Regions from separate parts of the Homo sapiens genome. Here region 2 is linked to region 1. The links are contacts of gene promoters, found by promoter capture Hi-C in human tissues and cell types (Jung and others, 2019). All regions are on one chromosome and are shown on one strand. Each heading gives the region's core, a stretch centred on a gene start or on the middle of the fragment in contact. The rest is flanking DNA. Distances are from core to core; before and after follow the strand shown.

Region 1 (6,615 bases), core at 2,204-4,703:
GCCAAAGTAAGAGCAAAAACGTTATTAGTGAAGATCCCTTTGAAGACTTTTTTTTTTTTTTTTTTTGAGAAGAAGTCTCGCTCTGTCGCCCAGGCTGGAGTGCAGCGGCATGATCTCTGCTCACTGCAAGCCCTGCCTCCTGGGTTCACGCCATTCTCCTGCCTCAGCCTCACGAGTAGCTGGGACTACAGGCGCCCGCCACCACGCCCGGCTAATTTTTTGTATTTTTAGTAGAGATGGGGTTTCACTGTGTTAGCCAGGATGGTCTCGATCTCCTGACCTCATGATCCACCTGCCTCGGCCTCCCAAAGTGCTGGGATTACAGGCGTGAGCCACCGTGCCCAGCTGAAGACATATTAAAAGCTAATCAAATAACCAAAATTTTTTGGCTTCACTTGGCAGTGGGGTCAGAAAACTGATTCAAAGCCACACTTTACTATAAAGAGTTGTTCTCTGATTACAGGGTTGGTGAGCTTAGACACAGTTGGCACTAAAAAAAAATTTTAAAAAAAATTGCCCCAAGTGGTTGCTAACTACCTAGAAGGATATACTAATAAAACTATTTTTAGACTATCTTCTACATTCCACCCTCTGTTTACTTATGCAGTTCTACCACAAATGTAAAATCCAAATCTTCCCTTAAAGAAGGGAATCTAGAAAGTTGTGGGAGATAGGGTAACACAGCTTTTCTATGTAGAATGGTACTGAAACTATGGCCAGTACACTATCAGTGCTACATTAAACTTTCTTGCCAGCTGAAGAAAAAAATCCAGCATGCCAAATGTACCTTTGCTCAAAGACATGGCAGTGCAAGGTAATTACAGTAGTGACATGGACTACCTCTTGAGTGAACAAAAAAATGCTACCAGAGTCGGCCGGGCGCAGTGGCTCATGCCTGTAATCCCAGCACTTTTCGGAGGCCGAGACAGGCGGATCACCTGAGGTAGGCAGTTCGAGACCAGCCTGACCAACATGGAGAAAACCTGTCTCTACTAAAAATACAAGATTAGCTGGGCATGGTGGCGCATGCCTGTAATTCCAGCCACTCGGGAGGCTGAGGCAGGAGAATGGCTTGAACCCGGGAGGCAGAGGTTGCAGTGAGCCGACATCGCGCTATTGCACTCTAGCCTGGGCAACAAGAGGGAAACTCCGTCTCAAAATATAAATAAAATAAAATAAATGCCACTAGAGCAAAAGGAGAAACAAGTTGAGTGTTGAAGGTTACTCTTTAAAAGATGTGATTAATTAGAAACTGTAATATTATCTTCTACACTCTCTGAAGAGCAAACCATACAAATGCTGTTGTTAAAATTAACAAAGCCTTAAAGTTAGCCAGAAGAACACCATCCTTTGGGTTACTACTGATTCACCAGCAGAGATGAGAAATAACTCTTTCCAAAAAGCCTCAAGTTCTACCGCCAAATTATTCCACAACAGAATTTCTGGCCAAGATCATTCACCTTTTAAAAATTCCTTGAGGACAGGAACCACGCCTATCTCCCTGAGTCAATGTCCCACAATGCCTGATACATTGCTGATACTCAATGGATACTCAAAATACTTAATGAATGAATAAAAAGGTGCCTATCATTACTCTAAACTCAAACATTATATAAAGCCACAGTACTTATTACTCACTTAAATATTTTAGGCTAGGTAGCAAAGTTAAAAAAAAAAAAGACAAATATGAATACAACAGGATTGTGAACGCTAAGCTTTAACTTAGCCGGTCCCTTCTTCAGAAGAAGTACTCCTAACTCACCTTCCAGTCCTTAAACTCAAATCTGAACAAACCTTCCCAAGTTTGAAGAGAGAAACACACTAAGAGGAGACTTTATTCATCCATGGATGAGAAATCATGTGCTTCATCAGCTGCTTAAGTCACAAGAAAGAGACAAGAGTCCGTTCTTTAGGAAACCAAAGATGCAGTATTTTGAATAGGGAAGAACCAGCCGGCTGGACAGCCATCAACTAAGGTTGTAAGAAAGGTTCACTAGGCAGGTTTGCCAGGCCTACCTGCAAAATTTTTCAAACCTCAGTTAAGTACCCTGCCGGTATTCAAGAGCTCCTAATTCGGTGACACTACACCACAATATGTGTGATAAGTCGCAAACGGCATTTCTTATGGCTTTAAGGGAGAACTGATGCTACCAGAAAGACTTTCAAATGACATCAATAGAAAGAAAGGAGGTGGTGGGAGGCACTGAGGTACAGATACCAGGTAGCAAAAGATAAACCAGCAAGCTTCAGGGGTACGTGAAAGCAGTACAACCTAGAAATTTAATACAGTGCTCTGGAGTCTGACTGCCTGGGCTTGCATCTCTGCTTCGTAACTTATTAGCTGTGTGACCTTGGCCAAATGGCTTAGCCTCTCTGTTCAACTTCCCACTGTGTTAAGTGGGCACAACAGTGGTACTTCAGAGGGTTGTTCAAAGAACTAAACATAATGATCTGTTAAAAGGTCTTGCCACGCTGCCTAGCATACAATAAACGCTCAAATATTTGCTGTCAATATTCTCAATATTCCCCTTATGACCCCATTAGGTATCAAGCCTAAAATGAATGCAGAAAGAGGCCCCAAACACGGTCGGAATGGAAACACAACTCTACATCCAACTACCATCTTTCCTCGATTAAGTTGAAAAACTTCTCTCAGGATTTACCGTAACATGCCTAGGACAAAAAGCTCCCTGTCTCCCAGCGCCAGAGGCGCCTCAATGTACACAAGTGTCGAGGCGAGCCCAGCGCACGTGACCTGACTCACTGCCTTGACTCAGTTGCCGTCAGGGAACTCCCACTAACAGGGTCAGGCTGTTCAACTGAAGAACCGGATGGGAACGCGGCTCGGCCCCCAGCGCCTGTGACCCATGCCCGCCGGGTGGGCACGGCGGCGGGCGGCGTGGGCTCTGACACCCTCCTGCTCGCCGCGCTAAGGAACTCCACTGGCCAGCGCGTCCTGCCGCGGCGCAGGGCCGCCCAAGTCAAGGAACCCTCTCGGGTCTCTGAGATCCAGGCCAACAGTAAACAGAGCGTCCGAGACGGGTGGCCGGGGCGGGCAACCCGGCCAGAGGTCACGCCCGACGACCTCCGACCTCTCCAAGCCGGGTGGGGTCTTGGCCTGCTCCGGGGGCCTGAGCGATGCCGGGTGTGCCCGCGTGGCCAGGGCTGGGACTGGAGCCTGCCCAGGAGGACAGGGAGGACGCGAGGCCCTGGCGACCGAGGGGCTGAGGGGGGGGATGGGGCCAGGCCGCCGGCCGGGCTGGGCCCGCTGCTTACCGCGGCCGCTGCGCTGGGGGCTCCGGGCCGGGCGCGTCGCGAGGGCTCCCGCCGAGGAGGAGACTAAACGGAGGACAGAAGCGAGAAGGTCCAAGTTCTGGTTCCAGGGAACTCTCCCGAGCTCTCCAAGCCGCCAACTCCGCCGCTGCCGCCGCCTCAGGCTTTATGGCCAAGACTCCAGGCCCGCTCCCACTTCCGCCACCGCCGCCGCCCCGAGCGGAAGTACCTGTCACGAGACGCTCGACGCCAGGGTGCGGGGGAGGAGCCCCGCCTCAACCTTGCGTCACGTTCCGGCTGCCTCGGGACTGAGCCTGGATCTCGTGCTACAAACATGTCTGCCCCCAAATGGTTGTCCCCATCTTTGAGGCTCATACAAGGAGCAGGACGGCGCCATGTTGGACCCACAGACAGATTCCCTCAGCCATCCCTCCTTACTCCAGAATAAATAATGCCACCGAAGAGGGGACAAGGGGTAAACTGGCCATTCCAGTTGTGTCCTTCTTCGAAAGGCATCATTTATCCTTACTTTAATTACTTAACCAAAAATTATTATCACCATTTTACAAATAAGGAACTGAGACTCAGTATATCATGTCACTTGGTCTAGCTCAACACAGAAACTGGTGGAGCGAGGTTTTGAACCAAGATCTGTCTGATGCCAATATGTGTTATCGTTCTAGTAGACTGCAAATGACTACAGCAATTGTGTGGCTCGGTGATAGAGACAGGAGAAATAGGCACTTTGTCTGGCAGAGGAGACAGCCCAAGAAAATGGAAAATGAGCTAAAGCCTCTCTGAACTTAGTATTAGAGAAGATGTGATAAAGATGGACCGGGTAGAACTCTTCTTGTAAGCACAGAGCAGCCTCCCAAGCACCAGCCCCATCCGAACACATCAGGATCCACTCAGAATTTTTGCCTCCATCTTCAACAATGCCCTCTCATAGTCTTTTCTTATTTTGGTTCATGCAAGCTCCATTCTTTCAATTGTTCCATCCAAAAACCTTGCAATTGTTACAGTAAGTAGTCAGACCTGAGCAGGGCAGGAGAGGGGCCACTCCCCGACCAGCAATGTGAGGCAACCATGACGTGGTTGTCAGGTTAAGCTGTCTCTCTAAAATAATAATTGGTTGCAGCCAGACCAGAGAAAGGCAGTCTCCCAATAGATAAAAACACCTAAAACTGGTGATCAGCAGCTTCCCGATAAGATCTCAGGAGTTGAGGGGTCTGGGGAAAAAAAAAATCTCAAAAGCTAGGCAAGCAGTCTCAACCCTGAGATGGTACAATGTCTGGGGTTTCCCCTACTTTTTCAACCAAAATTGGCTCTTTCCCCAAAACCCTCACCACCTATTCTCCTGTTTTCTCTATGTGTATTCTGAAATGGCCTTGCACACTGCAGAACCATCCGCCTCTGGGGTAAGTCCACTCTTTCTCTGCTTTCACTTTGCATGTGCCCAGGAGTTCAAGACCAGCTTGGGCAACATAACAAGACTGTCTCTTCCAAAAGATAAACAAAAAAGAAAAGAGAAGGCACACATCTACATCAGACCTCTGCAGTTGTACTTCTCTCTACCTGGAAAGCTCTTCCTCCAGGTATCTGCTTGGCCACTCCCTCACTTTCCTCTGGTCTTGACTTTAAAGTAACCTTTTCAGTGAAATAGCCTTCCCTATTTAAAACTGAAGTCCCTCTCCCTGTCACCACAATACAAACACAAAAATTGACATCTCCCTACTGCTTTTCTCCTCTGTTTTTTCTTTTTTATTTTCTTTTTCTTTTTTTTTTTTTTGAGAAAAGTTCTTGCTCTGTTGCCCATGCTGGAGTGCAGTGGCATAATCAGGGCTTACTGCAGCCTTGAACTTCTGGGCTCAAGTGATCCTCCTGTCTCAGCCTCCTGAGTAGCTGAGACCACAGGCGTGCACCACTATGGCTGGCTAATTTTTTTTTTTTTTTTGTAAAGAGAAGTTTTCACTATGTTACCCAGGCAGTCTTGAACTCCTGGTGTCAAGTAATGGTGTCAAGTAATCCTCCCGACTCAGCCTCCCAAAGTTTTTCCTCTTATACTACTCACTTATTTGCATATTGTCTGTCTTCCCCACTAGAATGGCAGCTCCACAAGGCAGCTATTTTTGTCTGTCTCATTCACTGCGATATCCCTGATTCTTGAAACAGTGTTGGGGTACAGTAGGTGCTCAATGTGTACAATTTGCAGAGTATTCAGGGGAATGAAAACTGAAAATAGTTTCAAAGGCCAAGAGTTATGATAATTCCACCCCGTTAGGCAGCCAATCAAAATGCTAGGTTTGAAGGTAAAGTAGCAACTGGGAATGCAGTAGTCCTCATCCCCAGGTTTGGCAGGGCTGACTGCAGGATTTGAGCATCTGAGTCCTAGAACCAATCCACCACAAATAGCAAGGGACAATTATACCAGAAAAGGCAGAGCACAAAAATAAAATGGGACATGTGGGCCCCAGCCTTCTAAGAAGCCTTCTGAGAAGGCTATTCAGATGCAAACATGGACTATTTCCTATGGGAAAGAAAGGACAACTTAGAAGAAACCCATGAGCCAAGAGGATAGAGCCAGGAGCTGCAGATAATCATTCCCAAGGAGCAGGAGGGGACTCGAATCAAGGAACTGGCATCACGTGCCTCGCTGATTTCAGAATTACTATGACCCAGTGGCAGCTGTCGCTCCTGTTTTTTCCCCTTTTGAACAAAAGTGTCTACTATGCTTATCTTCTTCTTGCCAACTCTGTATGCTGGGTCCGTGGACAGCAGATAACATCTCTAGCTCACAGGCCTTCAGAGGAACAGTGCTCAGAGCCGTTCTTAAGGAATTATATCTGAGGAACCTCATCCACATCTGGACCCAATTTACATGGCAAGATCCATTATGAGCCAGTGATGTATTGGGATTGAGACTTTTAGGGTTCTTGGGGGAGTTAAGTAGAGCAGGGCCTCCAGTAACATCATTTCAATTATAACATTGATGAGAAAAAATTGATTCCTGGCTGGGGCCCCTGTCTGTGTAGTTTACACTCTTTCCCCATGTCTGAGTTTTCCTTGGTTCCTCTGGTTTCCTCCCACATCCCAAAGATGTGCCCTTTAGGTGAATTGGCTTGTCTGAATTGTCCCAGTCTCTGTGTGTGTGTGTGTGTGTGTGTGTGCACGTGCGCACACGTGTACACAATGGGCTGGCATCCTGTGCAGGGTTGGTTCCTGTCCTGAGCTGCCAGGATAGACTGGCCACCTGTGACCCTGAGATGGAATAATTGGATAAATAATTATCTTGCTCATTTTCATTAATCTGTCTTAAATATATATATAGTTCACATTTACTTT
Region 2 (7,218 bases), core at 760-3,259, 550 kb before region 1:
TCGGGTGTACTTTGGCCTCAAAGTTGGTAAAATAGCCTGGCTTGAGTTTAAAAGCCTGCTCCCCTTGGGACCTAAACCGGAGATTCTTCATCTGCAACCAACAGAGAATGCTCTAGAGGGCTGTTCGCCTATGCTGATTCGCTGAACTGAACAGGGAGCAGAAACCCCAGGGCACACTCCATGTAAGACCAGATGCTGGAACGATCAGACACAGGACCCAAGCCCTTTGGAGCCTCCATTTATCGACTATCAAAGGAGGATGCGTTGTGAAGAAGCACGAACGGGAGGGAGTGTGAACTCTGCCTGTTAGCTGATTCACTCAACCACCCTCTACCGCTCCCACCCCTGGGCTTGGTGCTGGGACAGCGATGACGGGGAGAGGGTCCTGCCTCACAGGACTACAACAGCCAAAGGGCTGTGGGTGCAAGGGGGACAGGGCAGGTGTTCTGCCTCTTTAGGGGAGGCCTTGAAGGGGAAGGTGGAGCCCTGAAGCATGAGTCTGCAGAAGTAGCAATCATTCAATAAATACATGCTGATTTATTACAGGGATAAGATGGTTTCTTGGGGGATAGATTCAAGAGGAGTTGAGAATGTTTTATTCATTTACAATGTCCCTTTCCTGGAAGGGTGGACAGCAAGATTTAGGACAAGCTAAAATCATCCCCTATTTAAAAAAAAAAAAAAAAAAAGTCACCAGCAAGTAGTCCCGGGTGGGAGGTGGGAGCAGAATAAAAAAAAATCTGCAATGATTCCTAATTGTTTTTCAATACAGAAGCTTGGGAAGGGGTTTCTGCCAGTTTCATGAGGAAGGCACAACTTCCAGGTAGTGTTGGGGAAGGGTATGAGGTCCTATGCAGGCTGGCCTCTTATCCCACAGATGCCAAGATGATGTCTACTGGCAGCTCCTCCAAACTTCTGGCTGTCACCTGCATTGTCACTGTGTCCAAAAGCAGCAGCCGGGAGCGCACCAGGATGTCATGACCACCCCGGAACACACCTAGAAGGGAAGAGAGAAGTACAGATATATACAGCAGAAGGGACTGTACAGGGCAGGCTAAGGATGGCATTTGCAGCAACCCATGAAGGCAGCTCTGGTGTAGTGAAACGGGCAGGAGAGCTGGGCTGAAATCCCTGAGTGAGGGATTTCACTGTGAAAGTCACTGTCTCTCAGCCAGGCGCGGTGGCTCACGCTTGTAATTCCAGCACTTTGGGAGGCTGAGGTGGGCAGATCATGAGGTCAGGAATTCGAGACCAGCCTGGCCAACACAGTGAAACCCCATCTCTACTAAAAATACGAAAATTAGCTGGGCATGGTGGTGGACGCCTGTAATCCCAGCTACTCGGGAGGCTGAAGCAGGAGAATCGCTTGAACCCGGGAGGCGGAGGTTGCAGCGAGCAGAGATTGTGCCACTGCATGCCAGCCTGGGTGACAGAGCTAGACTCCGTCTCAAAAAAAAAAAAAAAAAAGAAAGTCACTGTCTCTCAGGACTTCAGTATCCTCAACTACAAAGTGGCAGGGATGATAATACCATATTTCAGGCTTCTGCTAAGTTCAAATGAACTGATGGACATAAAAGGCTTATATCTCATGTCACAGAGGCTCTTGCACGTTGACTGAATCTGAGAGCACAAATGAAGGGGACAGCCCCACCACGAGAAAACCACAGGGCAGGTGTCTGCAAGACCCAGGGGACTAGGTTGTTTCAATGTGGCTACAAACTGTCAGCTGTAGGCAGGGTACTGAAGCAGAGCCTCCTTTCAACCCTGTTTATAAACACTCAGCCAAAAAAAATCATCCCATTTCCTTTTGTTAACTGTTTTAGGTATGATAATTGTATTGTCCTTTAAAAAAGGGAAGGGGTCATTCTCTCTTAGAGAAACATACAGATACAGGATTTACATATAAAATGCTATTTCTGGAGTTTGCTAGTAAATAATCTGGGAAGGAGAATGAGTGTGGGTACACTCAGCCAACCCTGTAGAAAATAAGACAAAGGATATGAAGACAATGATCAGAAAAGGAAATACAAATGCCTCAACATTTAAGAAGATACTTAACTTCATTGAAAATACAAAAACTACACTAAGATATCATTGTCCACACAGACTGGAAAAGATCATAAAGTGTGGTAACATATTATGTTGTCCACAGTGTAGGAAGAAAGGTATACAATTCTATGGAAGGCAACTTGGAGTTATTTATCAAGATGAGAAACACAAATCACTTTGAACTGGTGATGCCTTGGAAAATTTATCCTACAGATATTCTCAGTGTACACATGCAAAGTAAACTGTGTGTGTGTGTGTGTGTGTGTGTGTACACGATTATTTACTGTAACATCTGTAATAGCAAGAGATTGAAATCAAACTAAATGTTCATCAGTAGTGGCTGTTCCATAGAATATGTGGTGCATCCACACAATGGAATACTAAGCAACTATAAAAAAAATGAGGATTCAGTTTGGGATGAAAAAAGTTCTGGAGATGGATGGTGGTCATAGTTTTACAATAGTGTGAATGTACTTAATGCCGCTGAACCATACACTTGAAAATGGTCGAAATGGTGAATTTTATGTATATTTTACCACAATTAAAAGAAAAAGAATGAGGAAGCTCTACATATTGACGGGGAAGATCTCTAAGATGCAATGTAAAGTGAAAAGCAAATCGGAGGACAATATATATACCATTTGTACATAAACATTTGAGTTAAAAAAAGGAAATGCGTTCCTATTAGCTTTTATAGCCATAAAATAACCGCAAGGTTATACAAGTATTGTTTGTAATAGTAACACTGGTCGCTTCTCGGAAGGGAATCTGAATGGCTGGCAGCCAAGGTAGGGAGGAAACATTTCGCTGCAGATTATTTTATACTTTGTGAATTTTAAATGCTGTGAATTTTGACTCCCCATATTTACAGTGGAGTCCTTAGCCCAGGATCCAGTGGCATCCAGGCTGTAAGCTATCCAGGCCCTCCCCATCTAGAAATGCCACTTACCAGCCAGGAGCAACGTGTGGGTGTTCTTGTTATCCGGCACTTTGTCTGACCTCTCACAAGGGTGCATTCCCAAGAACTTCACAATATTACCCACAGCCTCTGTAATGAGAAATCCCAATATTGTTAAGCCATCTTATCTGCCCTTTGTGCCACCACCACTCCCCCATGTTCTGAAGGGCTTTTAATGAAGTGGCATTTGACATATGTGCTCCAGACATGGCCCTGGATCCTTGGAGAGAAAAGGGATGAGCACTTCAATAGTAGCCAAAGATCTTGAACAGTAATTAGGCCAGAGATGGCATTCCCAGGATTTTACCTTCAAGTGTCTTGATGGTAGACAAGGTGAACGTTTCCTCCTTCTCAAATTCATCCCCTACCTCATCCCAGGCTGCTTCGAAGTTCAGTTTCATGACCTTTTGAATGTGATCAGCTACAGTAACTTCCAGATCTTCCAGCTGGAGAGATGGAGGTAGAAATCAGGCACCCATCTACACACCTACGGGCCTCTGCTCTGAACTCATCCACACATCCCTTCCTGCAACTCTTTCCACAGGTGCTTGCTCGGCACTGAGGACTGTGCTAGACTCTGGGGACATAGAGCAACTTGACCAGGTACCTATCCTTGAGGTGCCCAAAGGCAAATGGTATCCCTTCAACAGAAAACGCCCTAATCCCAAGTACCAATCTACTAATTCAGCCTAGAGCCGCCTGCTGTGAGATCACATCTCTTCTAAGCCTGCCTAGTGTCAGTGCTTCCAGGACCTGGCATGCAGGGAATTACATAGCATTCTCAGAGGTCTGCTTCCTATGCCTGTCCCTCCTAGGGGATGATGAGCTCTTCAGGACCAGCAGCTGTTTCTAGTTCAGCAGAAACTAGCAGAAACCTCCTACCCCAGCTGTGTCCTCTGGATTTGACAGATCCTGAATCTCTATCTCCATTTCAGCTGTGTCTTCCCTGAACTTGACACATAATACTCCCACTGAGTCTACATGAAGGTTCCCCATTCATTCTCCCATCAGATTTTCACTGAGGCCCTACTCCTGTGGATGTTTACAGTGTATATAAATACAACTTAGACCCAGCTCTCTCTCTCTTTTTTTTTTTTCTTCATCTCTGGATGGGCTCAAACAGACCCAGCTCTCTCAAGGAGCTCACTTGGTCTTAGAGCAGCTCCTGCCTCGGGGTCATTTCCAGCTCAAGGAAGGTCCATCCATCCTCAACTGTGACTCTAGGATGACACAATGGCGAATGTCAGTTGTATTCCACTGTGACTGTCCCTCTAGTCAGGAGGAGTTCTAACAGTCCCCATCCACAGGCTGAGCATAATGGTCTGCACTCAGATGGCCCTGAGCCACTGCCCCAAAGTCAGACCTCAGAAGGATCCTGTACTTAGTTCCACCGAGCTAAGATAGGAGAATTTAGAAGGGCTATTCCAGTGCATGAAAGGACTGCCCAGCACAGCAAACAGGTCAAATTTATCCAGAAAGCATTTGACAAGAGGAATCAAAATGTCTTAAAATCATGCTTACCCTTTGACCCAACTATTCTCCTTCTAGGAATCTATCCTAAAGAAATAATCTAAAATGCAGATAAAAATTTGTATCTAAAGGGATATTTAATGCAGCAATATAAATAGTGAAAATATGGAAACCCAAATGCCCAACATTAAAGGAGTGAAAAGTCAATCAAGTTTTGACATAGTATATAACAGTATTTTAAATCCACTAAAAAAATTGTGTTTATGAAGTATTTGTAATGATACTGGAAAATACACTATGGTTTTAAAATAGCAAGGTCTACACTGTAAGAATGATTTCAATTATACCACTTCCCCCCAAAAATAACTCTAAGGATTATGAGTAATGTTTTCCTGTTGTTCATACTTTGTTTTGAATTTTGTTTTTGTATTTCCCAAGTTTTCTTTTTACACATGAACATGTATTTCCATAAGTTTAAAAAGTTATTTTAGGCCGGGCGCGGTGGCTCACGCCTGTAATCCCAACACTTTGGGAGGCCAAGGTAGGTGGATCACCTGAGGTGAGGAGATCGCGACCAGCCTAGCCAACATGGTGAAACCCTATCTCTACCAAAAATACAAAAAATTTGGCAGGCATGGTGGTGGGCGCCTGTAATCCCAGCTACTTGGGAGGCTGAGGCAAGAGAATCGCTTGGACCAGGGAGACAGAGGTTGCAGTGAGCCGAGATCGCGCCACTGCACTCCAGCCTGGGTAACAAAAGAGAAACTTCATCTCAAAAAATAAAAATAAAAAAATAAAATTTTAAAGAGCTAAAAAGCCAAAAACAGCTCCAGTCTCACTGTCAGTTCCTGAAGGGAGTTGCTTTGCAGCCTCAGCACAAAACTGAGCTTCCTGACACCAGGATCTTACCACATACTCATCCTCATAGCCTTCGTCATCAGTCTCCCCAGTGGTGGGATCACAGTCCTTGACAGTGAACTTCATCATGCAGCTGAATGTGCAGGCCACTGTGGGGAAGAGAGGCTGGGTAGTTAGGATGTCCCCAGCCTGCAGGGGATGGGCTCCTCCTGCAGGGGACAAGCAGGCAGGGGTCACAGCCTGCTTTCTAGGCCCCTGCTATGTTATTAGTAGCAGCAACAAGCCATCCAATCCCACAAAGCTGGACAGAGGGTGCCACCTTGTAGGACAGGAAAGTCATGAGTTCTAGTGAGATCCTGTCTCTTTAAAAAAAAAAATTTTTAAAGAAGAGCACTTGGGACTCAGCTATTCTTCTTCTTGGGACTGAAATCAAGGAGCTGAAGCTCTAATAGAAGGCAAACAGCTGGTGCCCAGCCGCCCACCTCCTCCTGACCCCATGAGCTCCCAGGAGGATAGGGTGGTATCTGGAGAGGGGCTCACCAGCTGTGGGGTCTTCTTTGGGCAGTGCCACCAGTGTGTAGCAGGTCCCGGGCTGGTTGTAGGGCAGGCTCCGGGCAGGCACGTAACAGAGCACCTCATAGGCCTCAGTGGGCTCCATCTGCACTGTGACATTCTCCAAGGTCTGGTCATTGAGTGTGTTTGTGCAGTCAAACTGAACAGGAAAGAGAGGGGAGCTTAAACATTGCACTAGGTCCGAGCCATGCTGCAGAGGAAAAGCCAGGAGGTCCCACCTCTTTCCTATTGACCAAGGTGATTCCCATCCCAGTCCCCCTGCCCCAGGTTCCCTGTCTTCATGCTGACAATCGGGAGCCATGGATGTCCCGAGTCAAGAGATATGAGAGACCGACCTGTTGGGGACAGATTCTGTCATCAAGTTGGGCTCCCAACCAATGCAGTGTGGGGACCCATGACCCTACAGGACCTGCCAGACCTGGGACAACTCCCTGGGCGCATGCCCCAGCAGGGCCTCAGCCCACCTTGCTCACCTGAAAAACCATGTGGTTGGTGAAGGTGTGTTTGGTGCAGCGGATGACATACTCCGTCTCTGACTCGGTGAGGGCCACGGGCTCAGGCGAGGACTTGAAGAGGGGCCCAAGACCGCGGAACTCTGGCACTGCTGCCAACTGCTCTGAAATCCACAGGCCACATTCACTCAGCTTCTCGATCCCCAGACCAACTTGTTGATGGTTTCTAATAAATTCCCATGACCATTCTCAAGGTGTTCCACCCTACCTTAGATGGATAGATATGTTTACCCAACTGGCTACTCATTATTTCCTGAATATATCCATGCATTTTCTCATCTCCCTGACTTCGCTCATGTGGCACAACCCCCCACAAATACTCTCCCCATCTCTGTACCATGAAAGACCTCAGAAGCAAAAAACTGATATGAGACCACAAAATCCTAGACCTAATTGGAGAATCCCCCAGCTATAGAAGCTTAGCAAGGATTTCCGCCCCCTACCGCAGCAAGGATTCTTAAAAGAAGGTGACAATTAGGAAAATAAGATCGATACTGCTATAGCTACAAAATCAGACAAAATAACAAACTGGTCCTATATATTTATCAGTTAAGACAAATGGCCAATAAAGAGATATTTCAGAATGAGAGTGTTGCAGAAAACCTAACTTAGAATTGTTTGTGTCTGGTAAGACCTATCCCTACACCCTATGCCCAGGTTCAAGCACTGGATTCAAGCACAGGCCCATGGGACCCCACCCTGGCTGGTCCTGGCATTCCTTGCAAACTAAAGGGAATAACCCAAGTGAATGAGGCATCTGGCAGATGTGTGCACATGGTGTCCACCTATAATGGCTAC

What was found. Contacts are between HindIII fragments. The study calls those that stand out against the background at their distance.
Region 2: a contact is called between a fragment that was not itself captured here and the fragment with the promoter of RAB7A in region 1, in 1 of the 25 tissues and cell types used here (pancreas).

The regions. Positions count from the first base shown.
Region 1 is chr3:128,723,021-128,729,635 of GRCh38, reverse strand. It overlaps RAB7A (RAB7A, member RAS oncogene family), which reads right to left and starts at 3,453. Exons shown (of 6, transcript NM_004637.6): 1 at 3,277-3,453. RefSeq lists a silencer at 3,030-3,319 and enhancers at 2,586-3,570, 3,600-3,729. The HindIII fragment of the contact is 11,719 bases long and covers 1,981-6,615 here.
Region 2 is chr3:129,271,073-129,278,290 of GRCh38, reverse strand. It overlaps COPG1 (coat protein complex I subunit gamma 1), which reads right to left. Exons shown (of 24, transcript NM_016128.4): 19 at 6,382-6,524; 20 at 5,876-6,047; 21 at 5,387-5,484; 22 at 3,315-3,453; 23 at 2,999-3,097; 24 at 518-997. The coding sequence ends at 867. It overlaps MIR6826 (microRNA 6826), which reads right to left and starts at 6,145; the gene lies at 6,048-6,145. The HindIII fragment of the contact is 3,597 bases long and covers 211-3,807 here.